Regions from separate parts of the Homo sapiens genome. Here region 2 is linked to region 1. The links are contacts of gene promoters, found by promoter capture Hi-C in human tissues and cell types (Jung and others, 2019). All regions are on one chromosome and are shown on one strand. Each heading gives the region's core, a stretch centred on a gene start or on the middle of the fragment in contact. The rest is flanking DNA. Distances are from core to core; before and after follow the strand shown. Region 1 holds the start of ZBTB8A (zinc finger and BTB domain containing 8A). Region 2 overlaps YARS1 (tyrosyl-tRNA synthetase 1).

Evidence for each region. The method cuts DNA at HindIII sites, captures the fragments that hold promoters and counts their contacts. A contact is called where the count stands out against the background at its distance.
Region 2: a fragment that was not itself captured here is called in contact with the fragment with the promoter of ZBTB8A in region 1 in 1 of the 25 tissues and cell types used here (dorsolateral prefrontal cortex).

What each region holds. Positions count from the first base shown.
Region 1 is chr1:32,537,575-32,541,820 of GRCh38, forward strand. It overlaps ZBTB8A (zinc finger and BTB domain containing 8A), which reads left to right and starts at 1,853. Exons shown (of 5, transcript NM_001040441.3): 1 at 1,853-1,998. LOC124903952 (a long non-coding RNA gene) reads right to left here. Exons shown (of 2, transcript XR_007065669.1): 2 at 4,002-4,246. RefSeq lists a silencer at 2,216-2,585. The HindIII fragment of the contact is 4,148 bases long and covers 1-3,363 here.
Region 2 is chr1:32,803,309-32,807,739 of GRCh38, forward strand. YARS1 (tyrosyl-tRNA synthetase 1) reads right to left here. Exons shown (of 13, transcript NM_003680.4): 4 at 3,174-3,303. Among named protein-coding and RNA genes, the nearest start is that of YARS1, 12 kb to the right of the region's middle. RefSeq lists enhancers at 710-1,384, 1,385-2,058. The HindIII fragment of the contact is 4,745 bases long and covers 1-3,813 here.

The DNA of each region.
Region 1 (4,246 bases), core at 603-3,102:
GCTACTCTGGAGGCTGAGGCAGAGAATTGCTTGAACCTGGGAGGCGGAGGTTGCAGTGAGCCGAGATTGCATCATTGCACTCCAGCCTGGGTGACAGAGCAAGACTCCGTCTCCAAAAAAAAAAAAAAAAAAAAAAAAAAAAAGGAATGGATTATCTTCCTCAAGATTTGAACTGAATAGGTGGAAACAGGGATGGGGGTTGGGTGGGGTGGGAGACAGAGTTTAAGAGACTAGCACTGGTTAATGGTGGAGCTCTAGCATACAGAAACGTGCTCCCAAAGCTAGGAGAATGAAGGTGAGGGACAAAACTCTCATTACCTCTTCCTTGCAACAAAGAGGTTATTTTTGTTTGTTGTTTTTGTTTTTGTTTTTGAAATGGAGTCTTGCTCCGTCACCCAGGCTGGAGTGCAGTGGCACGATCTTGGCTCACTGCAAACTCCACCTCCTGTGTTCAAGCCATTCTCCTGGTTCAGCTGCCCCAGTAGCTGGGATTACAGGCGCGCACCACCATGCCCAGCTAATTTTTGTATTTTAAGTAGAGATGGGGTTTCACCATGTTGGCCAGGCTGGTCTCAACCTCCTGACCTCGTGATCCGCCCACCTCGGCCTCCCAAAGTGCTGAGATTATAGGTGTGAGCCACCACACCCGGCCTCAACAAAGAGTTTATCACCAACCTGATGTGCTCTCTTGAGGAATATGTTTGTGGAACTCTTTTGCATGTTTTAATTAACTAAGGCTAAAATAAAACCTTTGGCTAAAACCATGTCCAGGTCTTTCTGGGGGAATTCTCAATGGGGGCGCTAGCAGAGTAATCTGAGTACATCCAACACACCAGACACCTAATGGTTTTCAAATATGTTTCTACTTACCTGTTCAGAAGGTGAGGAAATGCAACTAAATAGCAAAGCACCTCTGCAGTGACACAGAAGTGACATTGAGACAATTGTGAATATCTTGTATCCTCAAAATGCATAGCTAATTATTCCTGAAATCAAAGTTACAAACTGTCCAATATGAATGATTTTGAACAGGAGAGGAATCCATTAAAAGCTAAACGCAAGTTTTGATAATTTGAACCTTTTCCCTCCAGTTTTACTATAACACAGTACTTTTCAGTACCTGACCCCAGCATAAGGAACTAGAAAACTAATTTATAGAAGTAATGCTTCTACAGTAACAGTGAAAATCCATTGATTTACTATTTTAGCAAATGTATAACCTGATATCTGTACTCTAAATATTAGAGACGTAAATTTGTCAGAGGAAGCTTGGTGTACGATGAATGCTTGCATTGGAAAAGACGCAACTTGCTATTTTTACTAATTTTATATTTCTCTGGACTTAACTAAGAATTATGTTCTCTTATCTCAGCCTCTCTGGGTTTTCCTATTCAAATGAAATGCTTCTGACCTGTACAGGTTTAGAAAAGGTTATCCTCAACTAAAATAACTGCTTCAGTACAAGGGAAAATTCTGTGGAAATCTTTTGCATTTGACGTTGCTAAACTTAAGTACAATAATGTCACATGTACTTATACAGTAATTGTGGGCACGCCTAAGTCCCTCCCTCTTTCCTAAACCAAATCCCCAGATCCTAGAAATCCAGCCCTTCTGCCCTCCGGAGGCGCCTTTCCCAACGTAAAGTACAATTTTAAATTTCAGCTCCTGACTAAAATCATGATCCGCAGTCAACTGCTAGAGAATCTGGGCACCCCGGTGTCTCTGGAGCGTGCAGCGAGTGTGGGCAAGGGCAGGGGGAGTGGGCGAAGCTGCTGGTTGGTGCCTGAAATCTGTGCGTTGCCCCTTTAATTGTGTCCCCAGCCCTCGGGCGTTTCTGTCCAACGCCCACGTCAGCAAATACCTTTTGTTTCTCTCACGTTGGGGCTACTTGTTTTAGGGCGCAAAGGAACGGCCTCGAAAGGGGGTCCTTCCCCAGCCGAGAACCAGGAATCTTCCCTCGGCCCGCGCGCGCGACCGGCCGGTGCGCCGCGGCCCGCGGTAAGTGGCTGCACGCGGCGCCGGCGGAGGGCGGGCGGGCGTCGGGGCTGCCCGGGACCCGCCGCGAGCCTGGCCGCGGGCTCTGACGGCCCGGGCGGCGGCAGTGCTGGGATGCGGGCCCCGGGCGCGCCTCCCCCAGACGTCCCCGGGCCGGGAGCGCGGCGGGAGGCGCCCGGGAGGGGCTGCGGGACAATGGCCGCGCCGTCGCCGCCCGCGCCCGCCTCGCCGCCCGGCCCGGCCCGGGGAAAGGCGGGAAGGCGCGCGGAGCCTCCTGGAGGCGGCGGCGGGAAGGCGGCGGGGACGGCGCCGGGCGTGTCTGGAGCCGTCGGGCGCCGCGGACTCTGGAGGGGCTCGGGCTGCGCGGAGCAAAGACGGGCGGCCGCCGCGGGGGCGCGCGGGGAGGGCAGGGCAGGGCCGGGGCCGGAGTCTCTGCGGGCGCGGCCAGGGGCGCTGCCGGGGAACCTGGCTCCCAGGGCAGTAGCCCGAGTTTCTCGGTGCAGCCTCCATCCTTGGTTTTATGTCAAGATGCGACATCTGGGCTTAGAACCGAGGGCGAACTCACCGCGCCTAACCAATGTTGAGCTCCCAACTATTTGCTTCTGGACGGAACCTTACATGCTCATCTCTACCCATGCGGACCGCCTCTTTTGTGAGTTAGTCAGCGGCTTGTTCCCTTCCCCTTCAGATGCGCTTATGTATCCCCGATTGTTCCAATGGCCCTACTCCACATCATTCTAAGACGCGTTTGGAAGCGGTAGATTCACACACACCTGGTGGGCTTCTAACCACACACGTCAATATCACCTCTATGCTTGATAAACCTTTATAGTTGCACAACTTTAAATGGAGTGCTTTCACCTATATGAATTATTTCACTTAATTTCACATAAAACAACCACCTAGTCAGGCTGACGGTAATTCCACTTTGCAGATGAGGGAACACGTATGAAGCATGGCGTTTCACCTCTAGGCTAGGGTGACCATAGCCGCCCAGGGCCTCCTGTTCCCGCCCTGCCTTCCCTCCTAAGGCACCTCCAGAGGAGTCTTTAGAAGGGCCAGTCTTAACACAGCGCTTCCCTGCTCTAAAAACCTTAACTGATCTTTTTCAGGAAAGCCTCCAAAATCCTCAACAAGCTTCTGCTCCAGTCTTATCTCCTCCATGCCTCAGGTATGGATGCGTTTGTAGACTGGAGCAAGAGCCCCTCACTGATAAGCAGGGATCAGATGTCTTTATTCCTGGGAACCTCTCTGGCCACACAAGTGGCAACTGGGAAGTGAGAATCTGGCTTAGGGCCCTTGATCAAATGGGTGTCTGGGTGGATTGTGCTCTAAAATGTCAGCAGGAGGCATAATGAGTAGGGACTCCAGGAAGGAGGCCACACCACTAACCCTTATCTCCTAGCCCTGAAATCACCAGCTTCGCTGTTGATAATGATTTGGGGCCATCAAAAACTTTGTAAGATAGAGTAATTTAATTCATCGTATGTCATTTAAATCTAATTTTTAGATAAAACTGTGTAATAGACTTAACTCAGTGACACAATGATATGTTAATCATATTTAAAGATTTGATGTGTTTGATTCCCTTGAATGAAGCTTTTGCCACTTTTCTGCTCAAAATTGGTCAGTGGCTCCCCATCTTACGCAGTTTAAAAGCCAAAAGCTCCATAATAGTCTATGCAGCCTTACAAGCACCTGGTCTCACCATGTCCTACTTCTCTCATGATCTGCTTTCCCTTTCTGACTCCATATCCCATTGCTTCCCCCATGCCTCCTTGCCTGCTCACCTCAGGGCCTTTGCACTTGCCGTTCCCTTTGCCTGAAATGCTCTTCCCCCAGACACCCACATGACTCTCTTACTTCCTTTGGACTTTACCCAAATGCCATCTTCTCAATGAGGCTTTCCTCAACTATAGTTTTGATTCTCTTAAGTGTTTTTATTAATTCTAAATCTTTTCTGTCTCAGGCCATTTGTGCAGCTATAAAAATACTTTGGGACTGGGTAATTATAAAGAACAAATTTATTTCTCACACTTCTGGAGGCTGAGAAGTTTAGGCAGTTTGGTGTCTAGTGAGGGCTGCTCTTTGCTTCCAAGATGGCACCGTGTTGCTGCATCCTCTGGATGGGAGGACTGCTGTGTCCTCACGTGGCAGAAGGAATGGAAGGGCAGAAGAGGCTAAACTCACTCCCTCAGGTGCTTTTATAAGGGCACTAATTCCATCCATGAGGGCAGAGTCTTCGTGGCCC
Region 2 (4,431 bases), core at 191-2,690, 270 kb after region 1:
TTTAGTAGAGACCGGGTTTCACCATGTTGGTCAGGCTGGTCTCGAACTCCTGGCCTCAAGTGATTTGCTCACCTCGGCATCCCAAAGTGCTGGGATTACAGGCATGAGCCACCATGCCCGGCCTATTTAGCATAATTCTTAAAGGCACTAGGATTTTTGGAATGTAAATGAGCATTGGCTTCAACTTCAAGTCACCAGCTGCATTAGCTCCTAACAAGAGAGTCAGCCTGTCCTTTGAAGATTTGAAGCCAGGAATCAACTTCTCTCTAGCTACGAAAGTCCGAGATGGCATCTTCTTCCGAAAAAAGGCTATTTCATCTACCTTGAAAATCCATTGTTGAGTGTAGCCACCTTCATCAATGATCTTAGCTAGATCTTCTGGGTAACTTGCTGCAACTTCTACATCAGGGCTTGCTGCTTCACCTTGCACTTTTTTTTTTTAATAGTATTTATTGATCATTCTTGGGTGTTTCTCGGAGAGGGGGATTTGGCAGGGTCATAGGACAATAGTGGAGGGAAGGTCAGCAGATAAACATGTGAACAAGGGTCTCTGGTTTTCCTAGGCAGAGGACCCTGCGGCCTTCCGCAGTGTTTGTGTCCCTGGGTACTTGAGATTAGGGAGTGGTGATGACTCTTAACGAGCATGCTGCCTTCAAGCATCTGTTTAACAAAGCACATCTTGCACCGCCCTTTATCCATTTAACCCTGAGTGGACACAGCACATGTTTCAGAGAGCACGGGGTTGGGGGTAAGGTTATAGATTAACAGCATCCCAAGGCAGAAGAATTTTTCTTAGTACAGAACAAAATGGAGTCTCCCATGTCTACCTCTTTCCACACAGACACAGTAACAATCTGATCTCTCTTTCTTTTCCCCACATTTCCCCCTTTTCTATTCGACAAAACCGCCATCGTCATCATGGCCCGTTCTCAACGAGCTGTTGGGTACTCCTCCCAGACGGGGTGGCCGCCGGGCAGAGGGGCTCCTCACTTCCCAGACGGGGCGGCCGGTCAGAGGCACCCCCAACCTCCCTCCCGGACGGGGTGGCTGGCCGGGCGGGGGTTGCCCCCCACCTCCCTCCTGGACAGGGCGGCTGGCCGGGCGGCGGCTGCCCCCCACCTCCCGGACGGGGCGGCTGCCGGGCGGAGACGCTCCTCACTTCCCAGACGGGGCGGCTGCCAGGCGGAGGGGCTCCTCACTTCTCAGACGGGGCGGCTGGGCAAAGACGCTCCTCACCTCCCAGACGGGGTGGCGGTCGGGCAGAGACACTCCTCAGTTCCCAGACCGGGTCGCGGCCGGACAGAGGCGCTCCTCACATCCCAGACGGGGCGGCGGGGCAGAGGTGCTCCCCACATCTGAGACGATGGGCAGCCGGGCAGAGACGCTCCTCACTTCCCAGACGTGATGGCGGCCGGGAAGATGCGCTCCTCACTTCCAAGACTGGGCGGCCGGGCAGAGGGGCTCCTCACATCCCAGACGATGGGCGGCCAGGCAGAGACGCTCCTCACTTCCCAGATGGGGTGGCAGCCAGGCAGAGGCTGCAATCTCGGCACTTTGGGAGGCCAAGGCAGGCGGCTGGGAGGTGGAGGTTGTAGCGAGCTGAGATCACGCCACTGCACTCCAGCCTGGGCAACATTGAGCACTGAGTGAGCGAGACTCCGTCTGCAATCCCGGCACCTCGGGACGCCGAGGCGGGTAGATCACTCGCGGTCAGGAGCTGGAGACCAGCCCGGCCAACACAGCGAAACCCCGTCTCCACCAAAAAATACAAATTGCAGGCGTGGCGGCACGCGCCTGCAATCCCAGGCACTCGGCAGGCTGAGGCAGGAGAATCAGGCAGGGAGGTTGCAGTGAGCCAAGATGGCGGCAGTACAGTCCAGCCTCGGCTCGGCATCAGAGGGAGACGGTGGAAAGGGGAGAGGGGGAGAGGGGGAGAGGGGGAGAGGGGGAGAGGGGGAGAGGGAGAGAGGGAGAGAGGGAGAGAGGGAGAGCCACCTTGCACTTTTATGTTATGGAGATGGCTTTTTTCCCTTTAAATGTCATGAACCAATCTCTCAGCCTTCATAAAACTGAAGACAGGGCCTTTCTCTAGAGTAGGCTTTAGATTAAGGTAACATTGTGGCTGGTTTCATCTTCTATCCAGAGCACTACAATCTTCTCTATATCAGCATAAGTGAAACTTATGTCTGTTTCTATTTTTCAGGTGTTCACTGGAGTAGCACTTTGAATTTCCTTCAAGAACTTTCCCTATGGATTCACAACCTGGCTATTTGGTGCAAGAGGCCGAGCTTTCCGCCTGCCTCCGCTTTTGACATTCCTTCTTCACTAAGCTTAATCATTTCTAGGTGTAGATTTAAAGTGACAGATGTGCGGCCGGGCACGGTAGCTCACGTCTATAATCCCAGCACTGTGGGAGGCCAAGGTGGGTGGATCATGAGGTCAAGAGTTCAAGACCAGCCTGGCCAAGATGGTGAAACCCCATCTCTACTAAAAATACAAAAAAAATCAGCCGGGCATGGTGGCAGGCGCCTGTAATCCCAGCTACTCGGGAGGCTGAGGCAGAGAATTGCTTGAACCCGGGAGGCGGAGGTTGCAGTGAGCCGAGATTTCGCCACTGCACTCCAGCCTGGGCGACACAGCGAGATTCCGTCTCAAAAATAAATAAATAAATAAAGTGAGCTATGTGTGACTCTCCCTTTCAACACTTAGAGGCCATTGTAGGGTTATTAATTAGCCTAATTTCAATATTGTTGTGTTTTAGGAAATGAGGAGGCCAGGAGAGTGAGGAAATGGCTGGATGGTAGAGTAGTCAGAACACACACAATACTTATTAAGTTCGTTGTCTTATACGGGCACAGTTTGTGGTGCCCCAAAACAATTACAATATTTAACATCAAAGGTAACAGATCGCATATCACCATGCAGATATGATAATAATGAAAAAGCTTGAAATACTGTGAGAATTACCAAAATGTAGCACAGAGACACGAAGTGAGCACATGCTGTTGGAAAAATGGTGCTGGTGGACTTGCTGTACACAGGGTTGCCACACACCTTCAATTTGTAAAAAACACAATATCTGCGTAGTGCAGTAAAGCAAAGTGCAATAAGATATGCCTGTCATCAAACCAGAGCAGAAAAGGTCATCGGGCCACTCCATCCCCCTTAAGTACCTGCAGTCCGGGGTATAAGAGGCCACTCAGCAAAGGGTGCTCCACCTGCTTTACCACCTCAGCTCCAGCCTTCTTGGAATCGTGCTGTGTGACCACGGAGGAGAGTCTGTACACATCTAGTGTGTACTCTCTGAAGAGGAAAGGAAGAGGGGACAGCTGTAAACCTGGGCCTAGGCCTCAGTTTCCTAGGAAATCTAAAGCACATTAATTTACTTCCCTAACCTTAGTGTAACCAGGGATCTCGGTTTTAAAAATATATTTTAATCACCAACTTTCTTCTTCTTTCCCTCCCTTCTGGCAATGCATGCTTATTTAATTATGTTCTTGCTTAAGAAATTTCAGAGAGGAGGGTGAGGATTCAAAAACTACCTATTGGGTATTGTGCTGATTACCTGGGTGACAAAATTGTCTGTACACCAAACTCCTGTGACATGTAACAAACCTGCACATGCACCCCTTGAATCTAAAATAAAAGTTGGAAAAAAAGAAATCACAGAAGCTAATCTTGAAACAAACTAGGCATGGAGCCCAGACTGCAGAATCCTCCTGCTCAGAGGGAGTCTGGAACGATTAGTCCATCACCATCAGTCTGAAGTCAAGATAACACCAACCATACCTCCTGACAGGCAATTATGCAAGACAGCCATCAGAACAAAGACAGACAGACCCTGCATTCTCACCACTCCTGCATGTCTCCCACACCAAGTCTCCCTTTAAAAACACTATGGTAACATTTAGAATTTAAGATAGTACTTTAGAACACTAGTTCACCATCTTCTCGGTTTGTTGGCTTTCTGATCAAACCTGCTTTTCCTCCTACCAACCCATATCTCTTGTGTCGGGCTTTCAAGTGGCCGGGCAGCCAAACCTGGGTCCAGTTACATTAGGACATTCAAACAGAGCACTGCCTGGTAGCTTCTAAAATGTGATAGACCTATCTTCTCATCTAAAATATTACTTTATTTTTATGTTTTTCCTTTTATTTTTTTTTTTGAGACAGGGTCTCACTCTGTCACCTGGGCTGGAACACAGTGGTGTGATCACAGCTCATTGCAGCCTCAATCTCCCTGGGCTCAGGTGATCCTCCCACCTCAACCTCCAAAGGAACTAGGACTATAGGCATGTGCCACCACACCTGGCTAATTTTTCTATTTTTTGTAGAGACGTGGTTTCCCCCCATTGCCCAGGCTGGTCTGGAACTGCTGGGCTCGAGCAATCTGCCCACCCCAGCCTACCAAAGTGCTGGGAAAACAAGCCA